Linked DNA regions of Homo sapiens: all the other regions are linked to region 1. The links are contacts of gene promoters, found by promoter capture Hi-C in human tissues and cell types (Jung and others, 2019). All regions are on one chromosome and are shown on one strand. Each heading gives the region's core, a stretch centred on a gene start or on the middle of the fragment in contact. The rest is flanking DNA. Distances are from core to core; before and after follow the strand shown.

Region 1 (4,988 bases), core at 1,608-4,107:
GTGAGCCACCCACCTCGGCCTCCCAAAGTGCTGGGATTACAGGTGTCAGCCACCGCACCTGGCCTAAAGGCAGATTTTTAAAGGTGGAACATAATGCAAGTCTGCCTTTCTTAGGATGATCTAAGTTACATGTTAATAAAGTTCTTGGAGATCTAGCATAGAATGCATTCAGCACTGTAAATCACAACTTAATGTTTGCCTCGATATGCTCTGTTGCTCTGAGCAAGTTGTGTGGGCTGTTATCTCCTGAGAAATCCCTGTAAATGGTATTAGTAATACTTTATAAGCAGGTTGGGAGAATATAGTTTTCTAAGGCATTTTGAAATTCTTAGATGAAAGGGTCTTTATGTAGCAAATTGGTGTCAGCCTATTTTCCTTCCTCTGAGCCAGAAGAAAATAGGCACCATAGGGTGGGAAGGGTTGGCTTATCTGTTAGAGTTCTTTTGTAAGTAGCTTTTGTTGAATTTTTTTTTTGAGATGGAGTCTCGCTCTGTCGCCCAGGCTGGAGTGCAGTGGCGCGATCTTGGCTCACTGCAAGCTCCGTCTCCTGGGTTCAGGCTAGTCTCCTGCCTCAGCCTCCAGAGTAGCTGGGACTACAGGCGCCTGCAACCACGCCCGGCTAATTTTTTGTATTTTTAGTAGAGACGGGGTTTCACCGTGTTAGCCAGGACGGTCTTGATCTCCTGACCTCGTGATCCGCCCGCCTCAGCCTCCCAAAGTGCTGGGATTACAGGCGTGAGCCACCGTGCCCGGCTGCTTTTGTTGAATTTAAAGTGGATGTGAGAAGCTCCTAAGAATATCGTTCACTGTAAAAGCAGACTTTTTTGGATTTGGGTCTTGGAATTCTTAACTGTATTTTCACCTAAGATTTAAAACAAGTTCAAATACTAGTTTGTAATTGGCCAGACTAGGGACAGATACGATCCTTGAATGATCCTGGGTCTCAACTTACCTTTCTTTCATTTTTCCTTTATTTTAGAAGAGGGATAAGAACTTTTTCTGAAGAGCAGTCAACTTTTCCTTTCAGTGTGTAGGATTAATTCCACGAATCTGTGAACTTAAATCTTTGCTGCCAAATAACTTGCAGTAGATGCTGGGATAGTTTTAAATCTATTTTAAGTTATACATTCAGTACATAAGTGCATCTCCGTGTAAAAACAGCTATGTTTGGAAGATCTAAAACGCAGCTTTTGTTTTTGAGAAGCCAACAATCTAATAGGGTAGGATCATATATATGTACAACTAACCGTAATGCATGGTGTTTTGAAAAATGCACGTATCTCCCTGAATTACCCCTAGTTAATAAAATAATTGGGAGCAAATGGTAATATAAGGATTTTGGAGTAACTTAATACTACTAGATTTTGCTGTTTATACATTTACAAAAAACTTTCTGCTAATGCTAAAGAAATAGAACAAGTCTATATGCATAAAGGAAGGTAGGGCTAATTTACTTCCTGGTGCTATGAAACTGGCAATTGGACAGGTGCAATTGTGGGTGTCTTTTTTTTTTTAAGGTGTACCTGTTGCAGGTTTGAAAAGCTGTTGATGCTCATGGGTTGTTTGTGTGCATGTTCTCTTTAAAAACCAGATGTATTCATTCCCTTTTTTTTTTTTTTTTTTTTTGAGACGGAGTCTCGCTCTATAGCCCAGGCTGGAGTGCAGTGGCCCGATCTCGGCTCACTGCAAACTCCGCCTCCTGGGTTCACGCCATTCTTCTGCCTCAGCCTACCGAGTAGCTGGGACTATAGGCGCCTGCCACCGCGCCCGGCTAATTTTTTGTAGTTTTAGTAGAGACGGGGTTTCACCGGGTTAGCCAAGATGGTCTCGATCTCCTGACCTCGTGATCCGCCCGCCTCGGCCTCCCAAAGTGCTGGGATTGCAGGCGTGAGCCACCGCGCCCGGCCATTCCCATTGTTATGTATACTTTGCTATTTGCTGCTGGTGAGACAGATAAGGAGTCACGTCTTTAACTGCACTTGAGTTTCCAGTGACCCCATTAAATCCAATGGGTAAATTTTCCCACGCAGATTACTCACCCAGTTTACAGATTAAGCTTTCATATCCTTAGACTGTATCTGAAATTTTCATAGCTTTGCCCACCTTTTAGGGTTCAGAGTTACTACCCATTCAGTGTCGGTGGCCTTTAGCTGTTGGCAAGCTTCCAAGTAAATAGCTCTTTTGCAGAGATCTCTACCCATTCTATTCTTCCACTCCTGGGTAGTGGAGAACCAAAGTTCACCTGAGTAATGCCCGTGCCCAGCACCCAGTTTCCTGCAGGGGTTAGCACGGATATTGGAGGCTCCCCCGATCCCACAGATACTCAGGATGGGTATTGGAGGGGGCTTGGTTTTTAAGAGGACATGTGAAAGTAATTAACCCGATTTACATTTGTATAATGAGTCCAAACACCACCTTGCAAAAGAACTGAGAGTTTAGCCTGCTTAATGGAGTTTCTGCTTTTCACGGTCCTTGGCCTTACCGACGGTTTACAGTCCAGCCAGATTTAGTTCACAAAAAACCAAAACCAGGTCGACCTCACTGCAGTATATGATGGCAGCGAGCGTTTTAAAGCGCAGGACCTTTAGTCTCCTCAATAGTTTTGTGTAAAGTTGTCCAAAAGTGTTTTTTTTTAAAGTGAGGTGATCCAGTCGGTAAACGCTTTGAAAAAGAATAGCTGTCCCCTGAGCGGGCATTAGTCGCGTGTGAGGTCAGGGCCCATCATTGCGCGTGTTGGGAGCGCCGCGCTGGTCTATGAGCGAGCGCCTCGGCTTGTGGCTGGGCCGGGCCGGGGCGGGGCTGTCTTCCCGCGGAGCGTGCTGGGGGCGGGTCGCGCCGGGCCGGGCCGCTAGTGCGCATGGGCGGGCGTCCTCGGCTCTAACTGCCGCCACTTTCCACACGCTGGGAGGGCCGTTACCTCAGAGATACCCGTGGCCGGCATGTTGGTTGAAAAAGCTTCCCGGAAGGGAGACGAAGAGAAAGGAGAGGAGCAGCTCGTGATCATCCCCGGTAGCGAGTACGCGGCGAAGTAGGCGGCGGCGGAGGGAGCGCTGATGAAGATGGATGTGTCAGTGAGGGCCGCGGGCTGCTCCGACGACCTCAGCTCTGGGGAGGCCGACGTAGACCCAAAGCTCCTGGAGCTCACCGCTGACGAGGAGAAGTGCCGCAGCATCCGCAGGCAGTACCGGCAGCTCATGTACTGCGTGCGGCAGAACCGGGAGGACATCGTGAGCTCGGCGAACAACTCCTTAACCGAGGCTCTGGAGGAAGCCAACGTCCTCTTTGATGGCGTGAGCCGAACCAGAGAAGCAGCCCTCGACGCCCGGTTTCTTGTTATGGCTTCTGATTTGGGTAAAGAAAAGGCAAAGCAGTTAAACTCAGATATGAACTTCTTTAATCAGTTAGCATTTTGTGACTTTCTGTTTCTGTTCGTGGGTCTGAATTGGATGGAAGGCGATCCTGACAAGTTGAGTGATTGTGATGATAGCATAGCTCTTTCCTTCTGGAAGGCAATAGAAAAGGAAGCAACATCCTGGATGGTAAAAGCTGAGACATTCCATTTTGTTTTTGGTTCATTCAAGCTAGAACGTTCTGCACCAAAGCCCCGACTTGAACACCAGAAAAAAGTTCGCAAGATGGAAGAAAATGGCAACATGCCTACAAAGTTGCAGAAGTTGGACCTGAGTAGTTATCCAGAAGCGACAGAAAAAAACGTAGAAAGGATTTTGGGATTGTTGCAAACCTACTTTCGAAAGTATCCTGATACTCCTGTGTCCTATTTTGAGTTTGTGATTGATCCAAACTCTTTTTCTCGTACTGTGGAGAATATATTTTATGTTTCTTTTATTGTAAGAGATGGTTTTGCAAGAATAAGGCTTGATGAAGACAGGCTGCCAATATTAGAGCCGATGAATGTTAACCAAATGGGTGAGGGAAATGATTCCAGTTGCCATGGCAGGAAACAGGGAGTTATATCTTTGACTTTACAGGAGTGGAAAAACATTGTGGCAGCTTTTGAAATTTCTGAGGCTATGATTACATACTCCTCATACTAAAGATTTCTTAGTATAGCATCCTTTTTGTGTTTTTTTTCTGAAGTTAGATGGAGAGTAAAATGTAAACTGAAGCACATATTGTATCTCTTGTAAAGTGAAAAAGTATTTTCAAGAACATCAGACATTGTTTTACTGTGCAGCATATTTTTCTTAGTAATTTATAAGGTCATGATCTTCTGTTATTAAAACAAATTCACTGGCATATTTATGGGAACGTTTTATTGAATGCCCTTTAAGACTATTAATAAAAACAAGTTTTGGATACCAAATTAAGGGATATTTGATAATTTGCAAAACATAATAATTTACGAAAATCAGTGATGATGCTCTGTGATGCGTTGCTTTCTCTGTCATAGGGAACCAAGAGAATCCCAGAAAGGGTTCCTAACCAGGTTGGGCAAAGAGTGGGTAAAAAACAAAAGTTAAAAAAAAAAACCTGTCTGTAAGGCAGTGAATATGCAACATTAAGACTAAAAAAGTCATTGCAAGGAAGACTTAGGATTTATGAGTGAGTATCCATATTCTAAACAATTTCTGTTATTGTACTCAGCAAAAGTAGTGTCTCTGCTGTAGTAGTTGAGGTATCAGCTAAGGGTGAAAGGTGAGTAGAAACACGAAGAAGGAAAAGGCATTCTAGGCAAGAGAATAGCAAGGTCAAATGCATGGAATTGTTAGAAGTTAGGCACGAGAGGACCATTAGATTTATGGAAAAACTATTATATTTGATAAGCTGGGCAACAATTGAATAACTTCATCTATTAATATCCTGAGAAGATGTTTTTGTCAAACTATTATACATTGAACACAAGATCTTGCTATCCAGTTGTAGTTTTTATCTACTGAATTTCTTCTCTGGCCCCTAGTGTCCCTTTGTGGTCTTTGCTAGTACATAGAATGTCCTTCACAATCTACGCTTTTTCATCATGTAACAAC
Region 2 (4,988 bases), core at 2,250-4,749, 630 kb after region 1:
CTATAATCCCAGCACTTTGGGAGGCCGAGACAGGCGGATCACGAGGTCAGGAAATTGAGACCATCCTGGCTAACATGGTGAAACCCCATCTCTACTAAAAATACAAAAAATTAGCCGGGCGCGGTGGCGGGCGCCTGTAGTCCCAGCTACTTGGGAGGCTGAGGCAGGAGAACGGTATGAACCCGGGAGGCGGAGTTTGCAGTGAGCCGAGATAGCGCCACTGCAGTCCGGCCTGGGTGAAAGAGCGAGGCTCCATCTCAAAAAAAGAAAAAAAAAAATTTATATTACGTTTCTACAATGTTTAACACTAAAGTTTAACATTATAAAGTCCTTAGGGCTAGCACTGTAAAAGTTCATAAAATCATAAAAGGAACTTTTTCCAATTATATGCGTGCTGTTCTCTCAGTATCAGGAAGTAAGTCAACATTACTCCAGATACATAATGAGCTATATAAACATTCTGCTAAGCTGTACTCTAACACCTTAGTCCTATAGATGTTACCATTCTATAGTTAAATACTGAGTGTTTCTTCAGAATAATTGGTATCTCAAGAAAAAATCCAAACCAAAACCAGCCTATTTATTGTCGCAGCTGTGATACTACTATAAGAACCTAAAACAATTATATTTCAAGTGGATGTAGGTTTGCTCTCTCTTTGGTATTATTATCTATTTAAAACTTTAATGTACTGCAATATAGTTCCTCTCATATCCTTTCTCCAACTGATGGTGGAAAAATGTTTCTATTTATGTATATTTTCCATTTAGATAAAAATGTTACCTCTTGAATAGCATCTTAGAGTCACAAATAACCTGAGGTTCCTTTAGGGAACAAACAATGAAAGATAAGAGCACATTATAAGATAATATATCTAATAGTTTCCCAGAGGCAACCTTTCTATGACTGATAAACAAAAACTGACAGAACAAAATGTCACATTTTGGCAACTTATTACTTTAGAAAGATAATTATATAATAGGTATTTGGTAACCACAAGGCATTAAGAACACCTACAAATCGGCTAGACATGGTGGGTCATGCCTGTAATCCCAGCACTTTGGGAGGCAGAGGCAGGCGGATCACTTGAGGTCAGGAGATTGAGACCAGCCTAACCAACATCTCTACTAAAAATACAAAAATTAGCCAGGCATGGTAGCGTGAGCCTGTGGTCCCAGCTACTCAGGAGGCTGAGGCAGGAGAATCACTTGAACTTGGGAGGTGGAGATTGCAGTGAGCCAAGATCACGCCACTGCACTCCAGCCTGGGTGACAAAGCTAGACTGCGCCTTAAAAAAAATAAAAAAAAAAAGAGAATACCTACAAATCAATAAGTAGCACATAAATTTTAAAAATAAATAAAAGATACAAAAAATAATTCACAGAAAAAGAATGGCCAATAAACACATGACAATATGCTAAACATTAATAATAATGTTAATTAAAACATGATAACATTTTCCTGCCATTTGGCAAATATGAAAAAGATCAAGAAGACCCAGTGTTGGCTGGGCACAGTGGTACACACCTGCAATCCCTAGCACTTTGGAAAGGCCAAGGTGGGAGGATTGCTTGAGCCCAGGAGTTTGAGACCCGCCTGGGCAACACAGCAAGACCTTGTCTCTAAAAAAAAATTTTTTTTAATTAGTGAGGTGTAGTGCGCCTGTAGTACCAGCCACTCAAGAGGCTGAGGTGGGAGGGTTACTTGAGCCCAGGAGGTTGAGGGTGTAGTGACCTAGGCCACAGAGCGAGACCCTGTCTCAAAATAAAATAAAATAAAATAAATACCCAATGTTGATAGGGACATGAAAAAATAAAAGTACTTCTATTTTGACAGTAGGAGTATAAATTGATACAAATTTTTTGGAATGCGACTTGACAGTATCTACAAAATTTTAAACATAGATATTAATTCATACCCTAATATCCAACAATGCTGTTTTTAAATCTATCCTATGAAAACATTACTATATGAATATATATTCTTATAAGGATAGTTATTACAGCACCAATAAGGAAGAATGAGTAAGTAAATTTTGGTATATACATACAATGGAATATCATGCACTCAGTTTAAAATGCAGAAAATCTTTGTATACCAATTTGGAGAGATGTATTATTAAGCAATGAAAATAAGTTGCAGAAAAATATATGCAACATTTTATTTTTATTTTTGGAAAAACTCTCATATGTATATATGTAAGCATAGAAAAGAGGCTGCAAGTGTATACAACGAACACTTCACAATGATAATCTCTGGAGAGGAGGAGAGTTTTGATTCGGAGATAAGGAATAGGAGAAACTTCATGTTTTATTTAATACCCTCTAATGTTTGAAGTCATTTTAATGAGTATATATTAATTTTTATTTTAAAAGTAAGAAAGTATTTAAATATAACATTTTGGGAAGATTTTCTTTTAACCAAGCTCTTCCAAGGTCTGTAGAGAAGAGTTACTTTACAGTCAGAATAACTATTCTTTCAGAATTTCTAAAGGGGAAAAAAGAAAAACTCCCACCTAGAAATAGATTCTCTCCCAGAGTCAGCATCTGTTCATTTTACCAAGGGATAAATTAAATCTAAAGTGAATGTTTGAGAGTAGTAACCTACATAAAGCATTTTAAACAGAAATGGAATAACAAAAAAAGACAGTAAAGTTAAATAAAGATGAAAACCCACCTGTACTATATCCAGTACCATGCCAGCTGAAACTGTTCCAAAACCAGCTAGCAAAAAGGGCACAAGTATTTGCAATGCCATGATGCCACTGGATTCCTTTGGTAATTTTGGGGTCACTTCTACAATAGCATCTTCATCACCATCACTAGATATATCTTCATCTTGTAACATGGCAGTGGTTTCTGAAGTCTCCCTTCCATCACAGTAATTATAATTGGCATAGTCATCATACTTTTGGCTGCAGCTTGATGATGCGTGCCCATTATTGGCATGAAAAGACTGCTCTGAGAAACTGTGATACTCCATGTGTTGCTCAGATCTATTACTAAAAGTCTGTACTGCAGTTGATAATCCATCTTGCCAAATGCCGTTTGCTTTTTTGTGCCTGTCTTCTTGGTTTTTCTGGTAAATCACTGGAACCATACTCAAGAGTAAATTTAAAAACTTGTCGGATTGAATTGTGTTTAAACGTAAAGTCCAATCTACAAAACCTCCTCCACTACTTGGACCACCACTTGTTTTATCGGTAATAGATCTTCCTTTACTATTAGTCATATTGTCATCACAAAAGACCCTGTACTCCTTAGATCTCAAGCTTCGGGAACCACAGCAGATGAATCAGAACCGCACAAACACTGGTTTAAATTAAGTTGTTGACTTCATTGTGTAGAAAATATTTCCACTAATAAAAGATGTTCAGAAGTTCCACAGAAGGACTGGATCTGGAAAAATAAAATAATTTTTAAAAATCAGAGAAACAAGATAGTTTCAGTATCAAGATAGATACTTCAATTCTTATAAAGGTATTAAAAACACATGTTCTTAAACCAACCCTACGGTACTGATACTATACTTTGTGGGCTTAAAACATAACTGTTTTGTGCCACACAACTGCTTTGTGTACAGAAATATAATACAGAGCTATTTTTGTGCTCAATCTTGGTTAAAAGTATTTCTTATCTTTGCATACTTTATGTGATCAATATCCACGTAAGGTCTTCAACTGCCTCTTGAAATCCCACAGTGGACAAATGTTTTAAATAAAGTAATGGCTTTTATTACTATTGCAAGGACTCAGAATCAAATTGCTATACCCTTTGCATCTGTCAGTACACAACAAAAGATATATGGCATTATACTTTAAACATTAAATAATAAACCATATTACTTTATTTACAACTTAATATAATATACATTTTATTATTAAGATATGAAGAGACAAGGATGATGTTTACTATAAAAACACTTGGTAGGTATCCTGAATACTATATAGGGCATTTATTTCACAAATAAAATGAGGCTGGAGTCATATTTGTAGTTCTGAGATATAAAAGCTCATTATAATTGATTTAGGAATATAAACCTTCTTTCATTTAGGAATAACAAAACTAAAAAGAAATTACAAATATTCACTTAAACCTCCATTTGCAAACCAGCCAGAAGAAAGCTTGTAACGCACTTATTTATGCCCTGCCCTGTCCATTCATAGTTCTCAGTCTGCTCTGGCCCATAATCCCAGGGTAGAACCCTGACTGGCTGGCCACTCAGTGACTAGAGTCTCTTTGAAGACTTTGAACTAAGAGACACAAACACATAACTGTGGCACATCAAAGAGTGATGGGCACTGAAGCTGCAAGGTCACCCACGACCTGACCAGGAAGAAAACCTGACAATTGCTGCCATAGCTGGCAAGGCTTTCCAAGCTATCAGGTGTTTCTCAGAAACACCTAGGCCTGTCTTATACTTCCAAGAGCATCTAAGACCAAAAAAATGGCACTGATTTGATAAGGGATGGGTGGCCCCAAAACCTAACTGGACTGCGTTCCTGCCAAGCTAGACTGAGAATTGTTGCTGCTACTATTGCTGCTTTTAATGAAAACTACTATATTCCTCAGTATTTGTTTCCAATGTCTTAGAATATCCATCTCCTCTCTGGATAGGAAGATCAATAGCAAGGAATGGCAAAGGGAGAAAGAGAAGGGGCTATGTAGGACGTAAGTGGGTGTTAGGGCCTGGTTCATCAATTCCATCACTCACTCACTTTCCTTTCCTCTCTCTTGTGATTACAGAGGGGTCTGGGATCTGGGAATTCCTTCTGAGGAACATTTTTAAAATACAGATTCCAGGACACCAGACCTACTGACTCAGAATGTGTGTGTTTGAGGCCCATAAATCTTTTTTATTTTTAACTTTTCCATGTGATGATTATGGTGCAGACTTCCTGTGGACTTGCAATGAGTAGATTAAGCACTAGTTCCCATTTTTGCCACTTATAGGCTGGCCAGTATAGACAGAAAGTTGGTGTTTAAAGAAA
Region 3 (4,988 bases), core at 1,832-4,331, 580 kb after region 1:
TGGGGTGGAGAGGTCTGTAGATGTCTATTAGGTCCACTTGGTGCAGAGCTGAGTTCAAGTCCTGGATATCCTTGTTAACTTTCTGTCTCGTTGATCTGTCTAATGTTGACAGTGGGGTGTTAAAATCTCCCACTATTATTGTGTGGGAGTCTAAGTCTCTTTGTAGGTCTCTCAGGACTTGCTTTATGAATCTGGGTGCTCCTGTATTGGGTGCATATATATTTAGGACTGTAAGCTCTTCTTGTTGAATTGATCCCTTTACCATTATGTAATGGCTTTCTTTGTCTCTTTTGATTTTTGTTGGTTTAAAGTCTGTTTTATCAGAGACTAGGATTGCAACCCCTGCTTTTTTTTTTGTTTTCCATTTGCTTGATAGATCTTCCTCCATCCCTTTATTTTGAGCCTATGCATGTCTCTGCACATAAGATGGGTCTCCTGAATACAGCACACTGATGGGTCTTGACTCTTTATCCAATTTGCCAGTCTGTGTCTTTTAATTGGGGCATTTAGTCCATTTACATTTAACATTAATATTGTTATGTGTGAATTTGATCCTGTCATCATGATGTTCGCTGGTTTTTTTTGCCCATTAATTGATGCAGTTTCTTCATAGCATCGATGGTATTTACAATTTGGCATGTTTTTGCAGTGGCTGGTACTGGTTTTTCCTTTCCATGTTTAGTGCTTCCTTCAGGAGCTCTTTTAGGGCAGGCCTGGTGGTGACAAAATCTCTCAGCATTTGCTTGTCTGTAAAGTATTTTATTTCTCCTTCACTTATGAAGCTTAGTTTGGCTGGATATGAAATTCTGGGTTGAAAATTCTTTTCTTTAAGAATGTTGAATATTGGCCCCCACTCTCTTCTGGCTTGTAGAGTTTCTGCTGAGAGATCCACTGTTAGTCTGATGGGCTTCCCTTTGTGGGTAACCCAACCTTTCTCTCTGGCTGCCTTTAACATTTTTTCCTTCATTTCAACCTTGGTGAATCTGACAATTATGTGTCTTGGGGTTGCTCTTCTCAAGGAGTATCTTTGTGACGTTCTCTGTATTTCCTGAATTTGAATGTTGGCCTGTCTTGCTAGGTTGGGGAAGTTCTCCTGGATAATATCCTGAAGAGTGTTTTCCAACTTGGTTCCATTCTCCTCATCACTTTCAGGTATACCAATCAAATGTAGATTTGGTCTTTTCACATAGTCCCATATTTCTTGGAGGCTTTGTTCATTTCTTTTTACTCTTTTTTCTCTAAACTTCTCTTCTTGCTTCATTTCATTCATTTGATCTTCAATCACTGATACCCTTTCTTCCACTTGATCAAATCGGCTACTGAAGCTTGTGCATGCATCATGTAGTTCTCATGCCATGGTTTTCGGCTCCATTGGGTCATTTAAGGTCTTCTCTACACTGTTTATTCTAGTTAGCCATTCATCTAGTCTTTTTTCAAGGTTTTTAGCTTCCTTGCAATGGGTTTGAACATCCTCCTGTACTTTGGAGAAGTCTGTTATTACCAATCTTCTGAAGCCTACTTTAGTCAACTCGTCAAAGTCATTCTCCATCCAGTTTTGTTCCATTGCTGAGGAGCTGTGAATCTTTGGAGGAGAAGAGGCGTTCGGTTTTTAGAATTTTCAGCTTTTCTGCTCTGGTTTCTCCCCATCTTTGTGGTTTTATCTACCTTTGGTCTTTGATGATGGTGACCTACAGATGGGGTTTTGATGTGGATGTCCTTTTTGTTGCTGTTGATGCTATTCATTTCTGTTTGTTAGTTTTCCTTCTAACAGTCAGGACCCTCAGCTGCAGGTCTGTTGGAGTTTGCTGGAGGTCCACTCCAGACCCTGTTTTCCTGGGTATCACCAGCGGAGGCTGCAGAGCAGCAAATATTGCACAACAGCAAATGTTGCTGCCTGATCCTTCCTCTGGAAGTTTCATCTCAGAGGGACACCCGGCTGTATGAGGTGTCAGTTGGCCCCTACTGGGAGATGTCTCCCAGTTAGGCTACTTGGGGGTCAGGGACCCACTTGAGGAGGCAGTCTGTCCGTTCTCAGATCTCAAACTCCGTGCTGGGAGAACCACTACTCTCTTCAAAGCTGTCAGACAGGGACGTTTAAGTCCGCAGAAGTTTCTGCTGCCTTTTATTCAGCTATGTCCTGCTTCCAGAGGTGGAGTCTACAGAGGCAGGCAGGCCTCATTGAGCTGTGGTGGGCTCCACCCAGTTTGAGCTTCCCAGCCGCTTTGTTTACCTAGTCAAGCCTCAGCAATGGCGGACGCCCCTCCCCCAGCCTCGCTGCCACCTCGCAGTTCCATCTCAGACTGCTGTGCTAGCAGTGAGCAAGGCTCCATGGGTGTGGGACCCACCAAGCCAAGTGTGGGATATAATCTCCTGGTGTGCTGTTTGCTAAGACTCTTGGAAAAGTGCAGTATTAGGGCAGGAGTGTCCCAATTTTCCAGGTACCATCTGTCACAGCTTCCCTTGGCTAGGAAAGGTAATTCCCTGACCCCTTGCGCTTCCCTGGTGAGGCAGTGCCCCACCCTGCTTCGGCTCACACACTGTGGGCTGCACCCACAGTCCAACTAGTCCCAATGAGACGAACCCAGTACCTCAGTTGGAAATGCAGAAATCACCCATCTTCTGCGTCGCTCACTGAGAGCTGTAGACTGGAGCTATTCATATTTGGCCATCTTGGAACTGTATACCTGTATTTTTTATGTATATAGGGTAACCTGTCCCAGAACCACTACCAGCCCTCCATCCCTACCCCCACCCTCTATGTTCCTGGGCAAACCCATAGAATTTCTGTCCTTTTAATGATATTGAGACATAACCCTTTATCCTCTTCTACCCCTCTTTTCTTCTCTCTTTCCTCCTCCTCCAATTGGGAGAGACTTATCTAATTAGTAATACTAGGGAAAGGGGCACTAACTCATGCCTAACTCATGCCGTTACTGGCTTTCTCTTTTGAGATACAGCCTATTAGTGACAGTCTCTCTTCACCAATACAGTTAACAGCTTATTCTATGGGGTCAGGACTACAAGTTATCCAACTGTCTGGCTGAGAGTGTGTGGGTGAGTTTAATAGAGTAGGACAAGAATATTAAGCCACATTTTCTAATGCTAGCCATAAGCTAATATTTTAATCCCTGACTTCAGCATCTATTTCTAAATTAAAGTATTATCAATTTATCATCCAAACAATACAAATTAGAGCAAATTTAAGATTATCCCTTTAATAACATAACCCACTTCCTGTGCTTTTTTTTTTGAGTGGGAGGGAAGGGAATTAAGTGTTGTCCTTAATATACTTAAACATGTATCATTCTTTGCAAATTGCACAACAACATAAAAAAGCCAAGACCTTTGGGAACAAGAGCTTACATTTAGGCCATTGATCATTTCTTGTCTTATACCTCACTTAAAGTGGATGCAACCTTATCTTCTAAATGAGAGAAATATTCCTTGAACATACACACCAAGTCTTATTAAATATTGTTTTTATGCCACTCACTAAATAACTTAAGGCAATTTTATATGCTAAGTGAAGCTTCCTTGATGTCTCCAAAAGTCACAGAAAATTATTGCCTTTGGTTGGTTAAAGCCCTTTCTTTATTTCAAGAACATATATCTGAGACCCTTACTTCTTAAAACGAAACATGCTTTAGATTTATTTTAAAGTACACCATAAATCTGTATAGAATCCATGAACATATGTGAGGATTTGTGAATAAATGTTTGCCTCTGGCTTGGCTTATATACTCATGTTTTTTTCTTGTATTACTGTAAGTTTCTGTTTTCCTTAATTTGGCATCTAAAAATAATAAAACCACAATGAACTTTTAGCATGTCATCAACACTCACAAATCATATGTATTTACCATTTCCAGAACACAAATTTGCATTAAAACAACTCATTAGATTCCATAAATACTCTATCACTATTTATCAGGAATTACATATATGGCTCCAACTTTATACAGCATTCAGTCTAATTTTTGTGGTGATTTTTTTTTCCCTTTTGTTAACTGCCATGAAGCTACTTATTGGTGTGGGTTTCTGATGGGGAAAAACATTCCATTGGTAAATTTTAAGTACCACTTATAAGCTTATATTCTGAGATGGTTCTATACAGAGAACACTGCAGGTTGACTCCTAGCTGCTGTACACTTACAGGAAAGGACAGAAATCACAAAATATGATAAGCCTGTGTTCAACTTTTTTACTAGTAGTTATATAAACTTGGGTAACATACATAACTTCTATGATCCTTGCTTTTCTCATCTAAAATTAGAGATGATAATCCTTATTTTACAGAGTTTTAAACTCTACGAGAAAAAAGAAAGTGGGAATCATAACACATAGTAGGTATAAAACAAATGATAGTTATCCTAATCAGTCTCAACAGCAGTTCTAATGCAAATGAAGGCTACCATGGATTCATGGCATTGCTGCAACAATATTTATTTAAAGAGACTTGAGACAACACACAATATTTAGTTTTAAATCAACTTACCAAGACAGGAGTATAAGCCCTGACTTATCCAAGCCAATATGGCAAGAGTTATAAGGTCGCCAAAACTAGCAGCAATGGGTGTAGCAACATTATCAGGATTTATACCAGTCTTCTTTGAACCAACGATAACCCCAACCATTATTATTCCTAGAAGAAAGAATGTTCATTACTTTTTAGGCTATGATTTAAAGAAAATCAATCCCCCAAATACCAAAATGTGTAGGATAGAAAAACAGCATATCAATTCCAGTTAGACTGCTTAGATAAGCTGACTAAAGCAAACAAAACATTTACTCTAACGCTTTGGCAAAATGCCTTTCAACAAACTCCAAGTGGGGATCATAGAAAATTTAAGAAGTTCAGCATTGTATTTAGAGGCCTGAAAGCTACTAAAATTATGGTAAAGCTAAAATTTCAGATTTAGTGACATGTATATCTTAGATATAATGTATTTGTGTGTATTGAATCCAAAGGTTTTAATTTTAACCCTCAA

Evidence for each region. The method cuts DNA at HindIII sites, captures the fragments that hold promoters and counts their contacts. A contact is called where the count stands out against the background at its distance.
Region 2: a contact is called between a fragment that was not itself captured here and the fragment with the promoter of EID3 in region 1, in 1 of the 25 tissues and cell types used here (dorsolateral prefrontal cortex).
Region 3: a fragment that was not itself captured here is called in contact with the fragment with the promoter of EID3 in region 1 in 1 of the 25 tissues and cell types used here (heart right ventricle).

Annotation. Positions count from the first base shown.
Region 1 is chr12:104,300,882-104,305,869 of GRCh38, forward strand. It overlaps EID3 (EP300 interacting inhibitor of differentiation 3), which reads left to right and starts at 2,858. Exons shown (of 1, transcript NM_001008394.3): 1 at 2,858-4,324. The coding sequence starts at 3,054. The coding sequence ends at 4,055. The region is part of intron 4 of TXNRD1 (thioredoxin reductase 1); the gene reads left to right. RefSeq lists enhancers at 117-286, 825-994, 2,786-3,658, 2,966-3,205, 3,236-3,295 and a silencer at 2,696-2,925. The HindIII fragment of the contact is 3,401 bases long and covers 840-4,240 here.
Region 2 is chr12:104,925,299-104,930,286 of GRCh38, forward strand. SLC41A2 (solute carrier family 41 member 2) reads right to left here. Exons shown (of 11, transcript NM_001352171.3): 2 at 2,675-3,396. The coding sequence starts at 3,229. Among named protein-coding and RNA genes, the nearest start is that of SLC41A2, 30 kb to the right of the region's middle. RefSeq lists a silencer at 4,033-4,327 and an enhancer at 4,033-4,327. The HindIII fragment of the contact is 4,880 bases long and covers 1,060-4,988 here.
Region 3 is chr12:104,881,798-104,886,785 of GRCh38, forward strand. SLC41A2 (solute carrier family 41 member 2) reads right to left here. Exons shown (of 11, transcript NM_001352171.3): 6 at 4,496-4,642. Among named protein-coding and RNA genes, the nearest start is that of SLC41A2, 74 kb to the right of the region's middle. RefSeq lists an enhancer at 2,814-2,983. The HindIII fragment of the contact is 4,056 bases long and covers 1,054-4,988 here.